Linked DNA regions of Homo sapiens: regions 2 and 3 are each linked to region 1. The links are contacts of gene promoters, found by promoter capture Hi-C in blood cells and fetal thymus (Javierre and others, 2016). All regions are on one chromosome and are shown on one strand. Each heading gives the region's core, a stretch centred on a gene start or on the middle of the fragment in contact. The rest is flanking DNA. Distances are from core to core; before and after follow the strand shown. Region 1 holds the start of YEATS2 (YEATS domain containing 2). Region 2 holds the start of LOC105374247 (a long non-coding RNA gene). Region 3 overlaps LAMP3 (lysosomal associated membrane protein 3).

The links. Contacts are between HindIII fragments. The CHiCAGO score rates a contact against its expected background, and 5 or more counts as called.
Region 2: a contact is called between a fragment that was not itself captured here and the fragment with the promoter of YEATS2 in region 1, in 1 of 17 cell types (naive CD8 T cells). The highest score is 5.1, in naive CD8 T cells.
Region 3: a contact is called between a fragment that was not itself captured here and the fragment with the promoter of YEATS2 in region 1, in 1 of 17 cell types (erythroblasts). The highest score is 5.4, in erythroblasts.

What each region holds. Positions count from the first base shown.
Region 1 is chr3:183,695,651-183,699,609 of GRCh38, forward strand. YEATS2 (YEATS domain containing 2) reads left to right here and starts at 2,147. Exons shown (of 31, transcript NM_018023.5): 1 at 2,147-2,343. RefSeq lists a silencer at 2,052-2,521. The HindIII fragment of the contact is 10,471 bases long and covers 1-3,959 here.
Region 2 is chr3:183,105,113-183,109,071 of GRCh38, forward strand. LOC105374247 (a long non-coding RNA gene) reads left to right here and starts at 3,113. Exons shown (of 3, transcript XR_924772.3): 1 at 3,113-3,282. It also overlaps a transcript of MCCC1 not described here. The HindIII fragment of the contact is 1,801 bases long and covers 1,172-2,972 here.
Region 3 is chr3:183,142,166-183,146,124 of GRCh38, forward strand. The region is part of intron 3 of LAMP3 (lysosomal associated membrane protein 3); the gene reads right to left. Among named protein-coding and RNA genes, the nearest start is that of LAMP3, 19 kb to the right of the region's middle. The HindIII fragment of the contact is 630 bases long and covers 1,357-1,986 here.

The DNA.
Region 1 (3,959 bases), core at 897-3,396:
GTGGGAGGGGAGATCTGTGTGCGGGATTTCAAGCTATAGCCTGGGTTCTCACTGGCCTCTGCTGCTATGTCTCTGGTGACTTCTGGTCTCCACTGCCCTGCAGGCATCAGCTGCTGAGGTGGTTGGTTGGCAAGCTCATGACCTGTTGCTTTAGCACCTTCAGAGTTTGATGTCTCATCTTTCATCCCCACTCCTCCATCCCCGCTCCTCTCACCAGCTGACTTAGGGGTGCTTCAGCTCCACTGGTATCTTCAGTACTGCCTATCCTTGGGGTCTTAGCTACGTTCTGTAGCCATTCCCTGGCCATCAGCCCACCACAAGGCCTCTGCTTTAGGAAACCTGCCCCCTGGCACAGTGCCTATTGGTCTGTCCATGGCTCTTAACCATGCTACTTTCTGCATGCCAGGCAGGGAGCAACAAGAGAAGTCTGGAATTCTGACATACCTAAATGTGCAAGCTGCAGCGCTCCAGCAGCACTATTGCAGACTCCTCCCAACGCCATGGCCTGCTCCCAAGCCCTACTGTGTGAGCCTTCTCACAGACTTGGACAGCCTTCCAAGCTACACCAAGGGAAGTCAGCTTCTAGCTTTCTTGGCACTTATCTGGGTATTTCTATGCTTTCCACCTCACTGTTAAACCCTAAGAGTAGGGGAACACCAACACACTCATCCTGACCTGTGACCTCACCCCCTTCTCCATGAAATTTGTTTATCTCCCCAGTTCCTATTATCTCTTGAGTCTTAGCTTAAGGTTCAAGGAAGCCTTTCTTAGTTTTTTTTTTTTTTGAGATGGAGTTTCACTTTTGTTGCCCATGTTGGAGTGCAATGGCTCACTGCAACCTCCACCTCCCGAGTTCAAGTGACTGTCCTGCCTCAGCTTCCCAAGTAGTTAGGATTACAGGCATGCCCAAATACACCTGGCTAATTTTTGTATTTTTAGTAGAGACGGGGTTTCACCATGTTGGCCAGGTTGGTCTTGAACTCCTGACCTCAGGTGATCCGCCCGCCTCAGCCTCCCAAAGTGCTGGGATTACAGGCATGAGCCACCGTGCCCAGCCAGGAGGATCTCTCGAGCCCGGAAGTGTGAGACTAGCTGTGGTGATAGTGAGACCTGTCTAAAAAAACCAAAATTAGCCTGGGGGTGGTGGTTCACGCCTGTAATCCCAGCACTTTGGGAGGCTGAGGCGGGTGGATCACCTAAGGTCAGGAGTTCGAGAGCAGCCTGGCCAACATGGTGAAACCCTGTCTCTACTAAAAATACAAAAATCAGCCAGGCGTGGTGGCGCGCGCCTTGTAATCCCAGCTACTTGGGAGGCTGAGGCAGGAGAATCGCTTGAACCCGGGAGGCGGAGGCTGCAGTGAGCCAAGATCATGCCACTGCACTCCAGCCTGGCAACAGAGGGAGACTCTATCTCAAAAAAAAAAAAAAACACAAAAAACAAAACACCACTTATATTTATTATGCGTTGATAAAAACATTAAATACATTAAAAATTTGGTAACATGTATGTAAAGTATAAAAAAAAAAGTGAACTTCCTAAACCCACCACTCAGCTCCAGTAGTAAATCGTTATACAGTGAGAAGGGATTGAAGGGGAACAGAAGTTCCCCAAGACCAGTTGGGAGGCTATTCATAGTCTTGGGCAGAGAGATTACAGGGTCTTGGGTAGGGTGGTAGAGTTACAACGAAAGAGAATGTTGGCCTCAAGTGATATTTAGGTGGAAAACTGGACTTGGATTGTCACTAGCTAGTGTGACTGAGATAAGTCTCAAGCCTTCCCTGCCTCAGTTTCTTCATCTGTAAAATGGGCTAGAAATAACTACTGTTATTTTGTATACCCAGCACTTAGCACATGGGTTGGCACAAAGATGGCACACACAAACATCATAGTCACTATTGTGATTAATAGGGAAGCTCATACACGCCGGCAGAATGAATATTCTGTCAAACTTGGGGTTGAAATTCGCCATCTTCTGGGGCAGGAAAGTGATGGACGACTGTGCCTTTGCAAGAATCGACGCCCACACTGCCCAGGAAGTGCCCTCGCGGGCCGGGGTCCCAGCCCGGACCAGCCCCGCCCCGCCCCGCCCCGCCCTCATCCCTGGGAGCTCCGCCCCGAGGCCGCGCGCGCCGCCGCGCGCGCCCCGACGCGCCCAGCTGCTGACGTGCGGGGCGGAACGCGCCGGGCGGGCTCCACCGCGCCGTGTGCTTCCGCAGGTTGCGGGGGTCGCTGGGGCCTTGTGGCGGGGCAGCTCCGCGGGGCTTCGCCCGCTCTCTCACCTCGCCGTGCTCTCTCGCGGCGGCCGGCGGGGCCCGCGCTGCAGCCGGAGACCCGGAGAAAGGGTGAGTGTTGGCGGGCGCAGGAAGGGACCGGCCGGGAGCGCGCCCCGCTCTCCGGGGCATTGTTTGGGCGGGGGCGGCGCGGGCACGTGCGCGCCCCTCCCCCATCGGCAGGCAGCGCGGCAGCGGGACCCGGTGAGGCCCCGGGGCCGAGGGGAGGGCAGGGAGGATCCCAGGTGCGGGCCGGGGAGCCGCAGAAGCGGGAGCCTGGAATTGGAACGTGAGTTGGGGGCTTCCTCTTCAGCGGGGCGCTGCGCTGAGGGGATACGGGACCCCGAGCCACAGCGGCCGGAGCTTTTAGGATGTTAAGCTCTTGGCCTTGGAGGCAAGATTTGGCCCCAGCACCAGAAAGTCGTGGGTTTACCGAAAGGATCCTGGAATGCCCCTCCAACCTGTCGCCATCCCCACCGGGCCTCCCTGGGATGGAGGGGAGGGGTCAGAGAGGCTTTGGGGGTCCAGGGATGGGGCCGGGGCCAACGCGCCGGAGCTGCGGGCAGTGCGGGGCGGAGTGGAAGCCTCGGAAAGTGAGGACTCCTGCAGGAAAGGCTGGCTTGAAGGGCTGTGGCCAGACTGCAGAAGACAATGAGGTTTTCTCCATCATGAATGTGATTATGTTAAGAAATAGAAACCAGAGGAAGAGAAATGCCATCAGCAATCTTACAGGCCTGACACATCATTTTTTTTTAGTTTGATGTTGGCTAGTATTTTCATCTAAGCATTCAGCAGTTACAGAGTTGACCCACGTTTTCCATTCCCTTTTCTCGCTCACATGTAAAAAATGCGGTATAATATTATATAGAATTCAGCAATATCATTTCCCCTTTCTTAATGAGTAGAGGGTATTCAGCGTAGAAAAATTTAAAAATACAAGCAAAGCCAGAGAAAAATGCCCGCAGTTTTACGATCTAGAGATACTACCCTTGGATGTATATTCCTGTTTGTGTATACTCTTTAAAAGATAGGGCAGATGATGCCCTGATAAGGAGTTTAGTTTTTCCCGGGAAGCCTTTGAAGGTTTTGAGAAGGCGAGTAGCATGATCCGACTGCTATGTAGAGGAAGAGGGCTGGGGAGGAACCTACGAGGTCAGTTACTGTGCTCTTTGCAGTAGCTTGGACTAGGCCCGTGGCAGGGAGATGGGGAAGTATAAACAGATTTTTAAATGTTTTAAGGTAGAATGAACAAGACTTGGATTGGTGAGGGAATGGTGGGAATCTTTGCTTTTTTGATTTTTGTTTTGAGCAACTGAGTAGGTGGTGGTGCTGTTTACTGAGATGAAGAATGGAAGAGAGAAATTTGAGGTGGGAAAAACGAATTCTATTTTAGATGTATTAAATTTTAGATGCATGTTAGTTATGAAGTCGGTGTGTTGAGGCAGTTGGATGTAGAGGGCTGGAACTCAAGGAGGAGAGAGGCTAGAGCTAGAGATAAAAATCTGGGAGTGGCTGGGCGCGGTGCTCACACCTGAAATCCCAGCACTTTGAGAGACCGAGGCGGGTCGCTTGAGCCCAGATATTCTAGACCAGCCTTGGCTACAAGGCAGGAAGGACCCCGTCTCTTAAAAAAAAAAAAAATTGGGAGTGATCTGTACGTAGATGATATTCAAAGGTATGGTGCTGTG
Region 2 (3,959 bases), core at 822-3,321, 590 kb before region 1:
GGCAGGCGACTCACCTGATGTTGGGAGTTCGAGACTATCCTGACCAACATGGAGAAACCCCATCTCTAGTAAAAATACAAAATTAGCTGGGCGTGGTGGCATATGCCTGTAATCCCAGCTACTTGGGAGGCTGAGGCAGGAGAATTGCTTGAACCTGGGAGGTAAAGGTTGCAGTGAGCTGAGGTCACGCCATTGCACCCCAGCCTGGGCAGCAAGAGCAAAACTCTGTCTCAAAATAAAAAAAAGTACATGCAGAAAAACAATGAATTACTATGCAGTCATTAAAAAAGAATGAGACAGAGCAATATGTACTCATAAAACACACTGATGAGTGAAAAAAGCAAAATAAAAAACCATGATTATTATTTCATCATTTATGTAAAAATAGGAGAAAGAAAATTCCCATATGCTTATATATGTAGAAATATCCTCTAGGCAAGAAAAGTTGTTGGCTTGAGGACAGAGATGATGGAGGTGAATATTTATTGTACACCCTTTTGCATCTTTTGCGTTTCGTACCTTAGGCCTGTATTAGCTATTGTGAAAGTTGTCATAATCAAAAAGGAGTCACTAATGGTAAAAAAGAAGAAAGAAAAAAAAAAACTCTTACAAATAGAGCTGGGAAGGCTATGAAGAGAGTGTTTTCAGGCTTGTATTCCTGATAACAAAAAGTGTCACAAAAGACTGCCAAAATTGGCCTGGTGCAGTGGCTCACGCCTGTAATCCCAGCATTTTGGGAGGCTGAGGCAGGTGGATCACGAGGTCAGGAGTTCAAGACCAGCCTGGCCAACATGGTGAAACCCTGTCTCTACTAAAAAATACAAATATTAGCCGGACATGGTGGCTGGTGCCTATAATCCCAGCTACTCAGGAGGTTGAAGCAGGAGAATCACTTGAACCTGGGAGGGGGAGGTTGCAGTGAGCCCAGATCGCGCCATTACACTCCAGCCTGAGCAACAGAGAGTCCGTAAAAAAAAAAAAAAAGACTACCAAAACTACAACCTTGCACAAAGGCCATCACAACCTTACACAAAAAATACTTCTGCAAGAACATGTGTCCAGCAACTGCCTATGGAACCCTGGACTGGCATCACCCATGTTATTCATCTTTGTAGCCAAGGATAATTATTTCAAAACAATTACATAATACTCCTCATGTTTTCCTTTAAAAAGCTTACTCCCATTGCAATGGCTTATTCCAAAATAAATATCTTTTTCTTTTATAGAGCCTCTCTCTGTTCCTTATTTAGGCTGATACTATAGAAAAACACATAATTTTAAAATGTTTTGTTTTGCTATAACTTCAAACTTACAGAAAAGCTGCAAGAATAGTACCCTTCACCTAGATTTCCCAAATGTTTCTTTGTTCTTTTCTTTCTTTCTTTCTTTCTTTCTTTCTTTTTTGAAACAGAGTCTCGCTCTGTCGCCCAGGCTGGAGTGCAGGGGTGCAATCTCAGCTCACTGCAACCTCAGCCTCCCAGGTTCAAGCGATTCTACTGCCTCAGCCTCCTGAGTAGCTGGGATTGCAGGCGCTCCACCATACCAGGCTAATTTTTGTATTTTTAGTAGAGACGGAGTTTCACCGTGTCGGCCAGGCTGATCTCAAACTCCTGACCTCAGGTGATCCACCCACCTTAGCCTCCCAAAGTGCTGGGATTACAGGCATGAGTCACCACGCCCAGCCCAAATGTTTCTATTTTATCGCATTTGCTTTATCTTTCTCTCTCTCCCTCTCCTCATGCAGATATAGATATATATGTGTACACACACACACTCACACATGCATACACTCACATTTTCTTTTGGAACCATTTGAAAGCAGGCTGCAGACATGATGCCTTTTTTTTTACCTCTAACTATGTCACTGCATATTTCCTAAAACAAGGAGATTTTATCACTTGCCCACAGAATATTTTTGAAGATTGTGAAGTTAACACTGATACATACTATTATTTATTCTACAGACCTACTTTGACTTTCAACAATTGTTCCAAAAGAAAACACTGTAGTGGCCAGGCGCAGTGGCTCACGCCTGTAATCCCAGCACTTTGGGAGGCTGAGGCGGACGGATCATTTGAGGTCAGGAGTTTGAGACCAGCCTGGCCAACATGGTGAAACCCCATCTCTACTAAGAATAAAAAAAAAATTAGCTGGGCATGGTGGCATGCACCTGTAGTCCCAGCTACTGGGGAGGCTGGGGCAGGAGAATCGCTTGAACCCAGGAGGTGGAGGTTGCAGTGAGCTGAGATCGTGCCTTTGCACTCCAGCCTGGGCAACAAGAGCGAAACTCCATCTCAAAAAAAAAAAAAGAAAAAGAAAAAGAAAAAGAAAACACTGTAGTACACATTGCATTGACTCTTAGGTCACTTAATTTGTATTGATTCCTCTGTTTTGTTTTTATTATTATTATTATTATTATTATTTGTTGTTGTTGTTGTTGTTGTTGTTGAAATGAAGTCTCACTCTGTCACCCAGGCTGGAGTGCAGTGGTGTAATCTTGGCTTACTGCAACCTCTGCCTCCTGTATTCAAGTGATTCTCATGCCTCAGCCTCCCAAGTAGCTGGGATTACAGGCGCATGCCACCACGCCTGGCTAGTTTTCTTTTCTTTCTTTTTTGTAGAAACGGAGGTTTCACCATGTTGGCCAGGCTGGTCTCAAACTCCTGACCTCAAGTGATCCGCCCGCCTCAGTCTCCCAAAGTGCTGGGATTACAGGTGTGAGCCACTGCACCCAGCCTGATTCCTCCGTTTTTAAAAAGATGCTGATGATGCTGATATTTTTTATGAATACAGGCCAGTTGTTTTGTACAATATCCTTGAATTTGGGTTTGCCAAAAATAAAATCAGATTAAATTTAAATTCTCAAAAAGATTATTGAGCATACAAAATAACAGTTCCCAAACTAGAGACCTCTGTGCAGCTTCCTAAATGAGGAAGTACGTTGATCTCTGTTGTGCAAATAAAGCTGCATAAGCTTGTTTGTATTGGCTTAATGTTATTACGCTGACAAGGAAGAAAAAGTGTGTTATGGTTAGGGCTAGCATTTTCAGGGAAATCAGGATAGTTTAGGTTTTGACTACACATGGCTGTGGGTTGTTGGCCTAGGGAAATATCCAAACTGTGGCCTCCAATTTTATTTTTCTTTAACCTGTTCATCTGGTATTTCCTCATGATTAGATTTAGGTTATTAGATTTAGGTAATTAGATTCCTCCCTTTTGGCAGGAATACCACAGAAGTGATGTCATACCCATTTCAGTGCATCATATCTGGAGCTACAAAATGTGAGTTTGTTCCATGATGTTAACTTTATCACTTGATTAAATTGGTGTCTGCCAGGTTTCCTCACTGTAAATATTTTTTTTTGACATTCCATATGGTTTTGTCTCCGAGAGGTAGAATTGTGTTTCATTCTCCACCACTCCTTCTCAACATTACTTCTGAATAATTTTCTGCACTTCGCAAAGTTCTACAAGAAACAGACATGACTTTAACAAGAAGTAATGTTTAAATCTGACTGAAGAAAATACTGGGGGGAGGAAGTGGAAGTGGAGGTACAGAGTTAGAAGCTGGTGTGCTGTTCTCTCTATAACTCCACCCACTGATCCTGTTTTAGATCAGGCATGATTATTTCCAATTTCTGGGGCAAGGGCAGTTATACTGATCCATCATCCTCGCACTTGCTCCAACCGAAGTGTAGAACAGCCCCAGTAGCCTCTTTGGTGTTCAATAGGTATATCTGGGATAAAACTAAAGCCCAAAGGAATGACCCATTACAGCATCATATGTATTGAAGGACTTTGATATGCTGGGTTTTTAAAAAATTTTTCTTTTAGGTTCGGGGCTACACATGCAGGTTTGTGGGGTTTTTTGTTTGTTTGTTTTGTTTTTGTTTTTGAGATGGAGTTTTCCTCTTTGTTGCCCAAGCTGGAGTGCAGTGGCGCGATCTCGGCTCACTACA
Region 3 (3,959 bases), core at 422-2,921, 550 kb before region 1:
GCCTCTTTTAATATAAGAGAGACTTATATTTCAGGGTCCACAGTCCGGGTTACAAGGCCCCCGCCCCATCCCTAAGGGCAAAGAGCGTCCATCGAAGGGTTTTAAGCAGGGCAGTGACATGAGCATAGCTTTGTTTTTGTAAATGGCTCGGGCTGCACTGTGAGATTGATTTGAGGAGCAGCAGAATAGTGATGAGGTCAGCAAAGACTCCTCAGAGGCCTCTTGGAATCTTCCCTTTGGTGTCTCCCTGACCTGTCCCTCCTAAAGGAAGAATGCTTGGCATTTCTGTGAGAGTTTCAGAATTCGCCACGTGCATGCTTTCACTGACATTGCCTCACTTGATCCTTACAACGACCCCGAGACAGAATCGATATTAACAGACCATTTTACAGCTGAGAACAAAGAGGCTCAGAAGAGTTAAGCATCTACCGCAGATGCATGTAGTTTGTAGGTGAGACAAAGCAAGATCCTGCCCTACATTTTCCTCCATGGGATGTGTGGGTATAGAACAAAAATTCATTATGTGAGAATTTACTTTCACATTCCCTGAAATGCAGCTGAAACCTATAACCATTGATGGGAAGCAGGACTGGCTACATAATGAATTTTTGGGGCTTAGTAAAAAATGAAAGTGCCGGGCCATGTGTTCAAAAATCAAGAATTTCATGGGGCAACAGCAAAGCATGAAAACAAGTCTGAGCCCTTCCGGATGCACAGGCAGAACACCTGTGAACCCGTCCCTGATGGGCAGGGCCACTGCTGTTCCACAAGAATCTGCGCTTTCTAGGGCTAATCAAAAAATGAGGCCTTCCGTAAGCAGGGTGCTCACATTCACTCTGAGTTCATCTTAAGGACACACAGGACAGAGTCTGGAAGCTGTACTCAGAATTCTTTCCATTTTGACTGAGTCAAAATTAGTGAAACATTGACTAGGACTAAGCTGATGTCTAGCTTTTTTTTTGAGTTGGGGTCTCCCTCTGTCGCCCAGGCTGGTGTGCAGTGGCAAGATCTTGGCTCACTGCAGCCTCAACCTGCTGGGCTCAAGTGATCCTCCTGCCTGAGCCTCCCAAGTAGCTGGGACTACAAGCACGTGGCACCACAGCCAGCTAATTTAAAAAAAATTTTTTTATAGAGATGGGATCTCACTATGGTGCCCAGGCTAGTCTTGAACTCCTGACCTCAAGAGATCTTCCCTACTTGACCTCTCAAGGTGTTGGGTTGACAAGGAATGAGGCTTGAGGTATAAGCTACTATGTCTAGCCATGATGTCTATCTTTAGAGTAAAGGAAAAGTATCTGTTAGGTGGATTCATGTAAACAAAAGGACAGGGGGATATTTAGTTTTCTTAAGATTACAAGCTTGACTTGACATGATCATACTTCAATTGTCCTACACATCTCTTCTGACTCACCCTTTCCATATGGTATTTAAGCCCTGGGTCTCAGGGTTAATGGCGTGGGGATATACCATCTTGTCTCATCACCATTCAAGACAGACATGGCTTCTGTTCATACATCCCTATTAAGTGTCTCTTTCCAAGAAAAAAAAAGATTCCAAGTTTTACACAATTTATGCTATGGAATGAGGCTTAGACAATTGTACCACTTTATTCTGTAGAATTGTAGTGTTACTGAATATTCTTAAAGGAAATAAAATCGTCTTTGGTAAACTTTTTTCCAGAAATATTTTAGGCTCTGTGGTCCTTTGTTAATCCGTCAAGGAACCTTAACATCCTCCTTAGCAAAACTGTGGGTCCACCAACATGTCTACCTTTCTGCAGACATACGGGGGTCTGGCACCAACCAGCCCAATTCATCCTGCCCAGGACGCCAGCATGCCAATAACCATGGGGTCCTAAGGTCCCCCTGTCCACTTCTGCAAAACACACCGTGGAAGTTTCATAGTCCCAGCTGTTCAGGATGTGGATTTTGTCTTCAGCATCAATCATGTCCTTTTCGCTCAGCATTGTTGTGACTAAATCAAGAAAGCTTTGTTCTGGACATAGCAAAAGGAACCTGTGATCTACTTTTTGGCACTTTGACCCAGAGTTCTCTGCAAAATTTAGATTTTCTCCTTCATTGATACATTTGTTTATCAAACATTGCTAAAGATATACTATATGCGAAGTCGGGGTGAGCACTAGAGAAGAGACGTGAAGGAGCCATAGACTTTGCCTTGGGGATGGCAAAATGTGTGACAAGTGCATTGATGAAGTTTGGGGAACAATGAATAGAGTTTCAGGGAACTAAGAGGAGGAAGTCTCTCATTTTACCTGAAGTGGAAGTGGGGAAGGGGGAATTTCACAGGGTGATGATATTTGAGTTATTTTAAGGATGGATGCTAAAGGAGCTGAGGGGTGGGAGGGGCCTTCTAGGCAGAGGGAAAAGTACCAGGGGAAAAAGAGCATGGAAAGTACAGATCACTTGGGGAGTTCTAAGTGTGCACTGTGAGGGTGTCAACACTTGAACACTGGTCACAGTCCTCAGAAGCCCAGCTCGTAGGCCAAGAGGGTTCCAAATGCCCCTCAAAGGCTCTGGAGACCAGTTTGAGCAACATAATGAAAACCTGTCTCTAGAAAAAAATACACAAATTAGCTGGGCATGGTGGCATGTACCTGTAGTCCCAGCTACTCAGGAGACTGAGAGGTGGAGGATCACTTGAGTCCAGGAGGCTGAGGCTGCAGTGAGCCTGATCGTGCTACCACACTTCAGCCTGGGTGACAGAGGGAGGCCCTTTCTCAAAAAACAAAAAAAGCTCTGGGGAAACAACAGGTGGGTCTGCAGCATTGATTCCAGGACCTCAGTCGGCCAGTGCACTGCCTGACCCTCGCACCTCTCCTCTCTTGATGGTTGATTTCACGAGCCAGGGCTGGAGACCTAGAGCTGCCCGGCCAAAGGGGTGGAGGAGAAAGGGATAGTCCTGTGCACAGAATGAAGTTACTGCAGAATGTTTTAAAAGCAACTATCCCACCAGGAAGGATGTTGTAGGGAGGTGTGGGGAGAGATGCATGTGATCTTGAACTGGAAGGGTCTGAACAACTTTCAGCATGTCACCCTAACCAAATGAGACACTGACAGGGAAAGGTTTTCAGTTCTTTAAAAAATGAAACTGCGGGAAAAAAAGAAAGGAAATCCACCTCTCCTGACCCCTCTAGGGGCCAAATACCACGCTGAACACTTTTACATTCTTTAGCTCAGCACACTCTCATGGCAGCCCAGCAAAATAAGCACTCGTTGGCTCCATCTTATAGAAGAGGAACTGAGGCTCAGAGATCATGAGCAGCCTGTCCATGGTCACAAAGCGAATGATATGGATAATTTGCCTTGATTGAACAACAAGGTTAAGTGACTGATTTTTCTTTATGTTGTTGTCATTGGTAGTATTTCAATTTAAAAAACTACAAATTGGGCTGGGCACAGTGGCTCACACCTGTAATCCCAGCACTTTGGGAGGCCGAGGTTGGGCGGATCAGCTGAGGTCAGGACTTCGAGATCAGCCTGGCCAACATGGCGAAACCCCGTCTCTACTAAAAAATACAAAAATGAGCAGGGTGTGGTGGTGCACACCTGTAATCCCAGCTACTCGAGAGGCTGAGGCAGGAGAATCACTTGAACCCAGGAGGCAGAGTTTGCAGTGAGCCGAAATCATGTCATTGCACTCCAGCCTGGGCGACAAGAGCAAAACCTGGTCTCAAAAACAAACAAACAAACAAAACCCTACAGATTGAAAGCGGGAACTATAGCCTATATTTCTGTTATTTTTCTTTCATAGCCAAGCTCATTGTTAGGGACAAAGTAGGTGCTCAGTAAATTCTTACTAATAAACGAGTTGATAAATCAGGCCTAATCAACATCCATTTATCATTCTACAACTTAGCTCTCATAACATCTATTATATTATAATGAATAAACTCACATTTTCTAAGGTTCTCTTTTTCTCTAGAGCTGTGGTTTTCAACT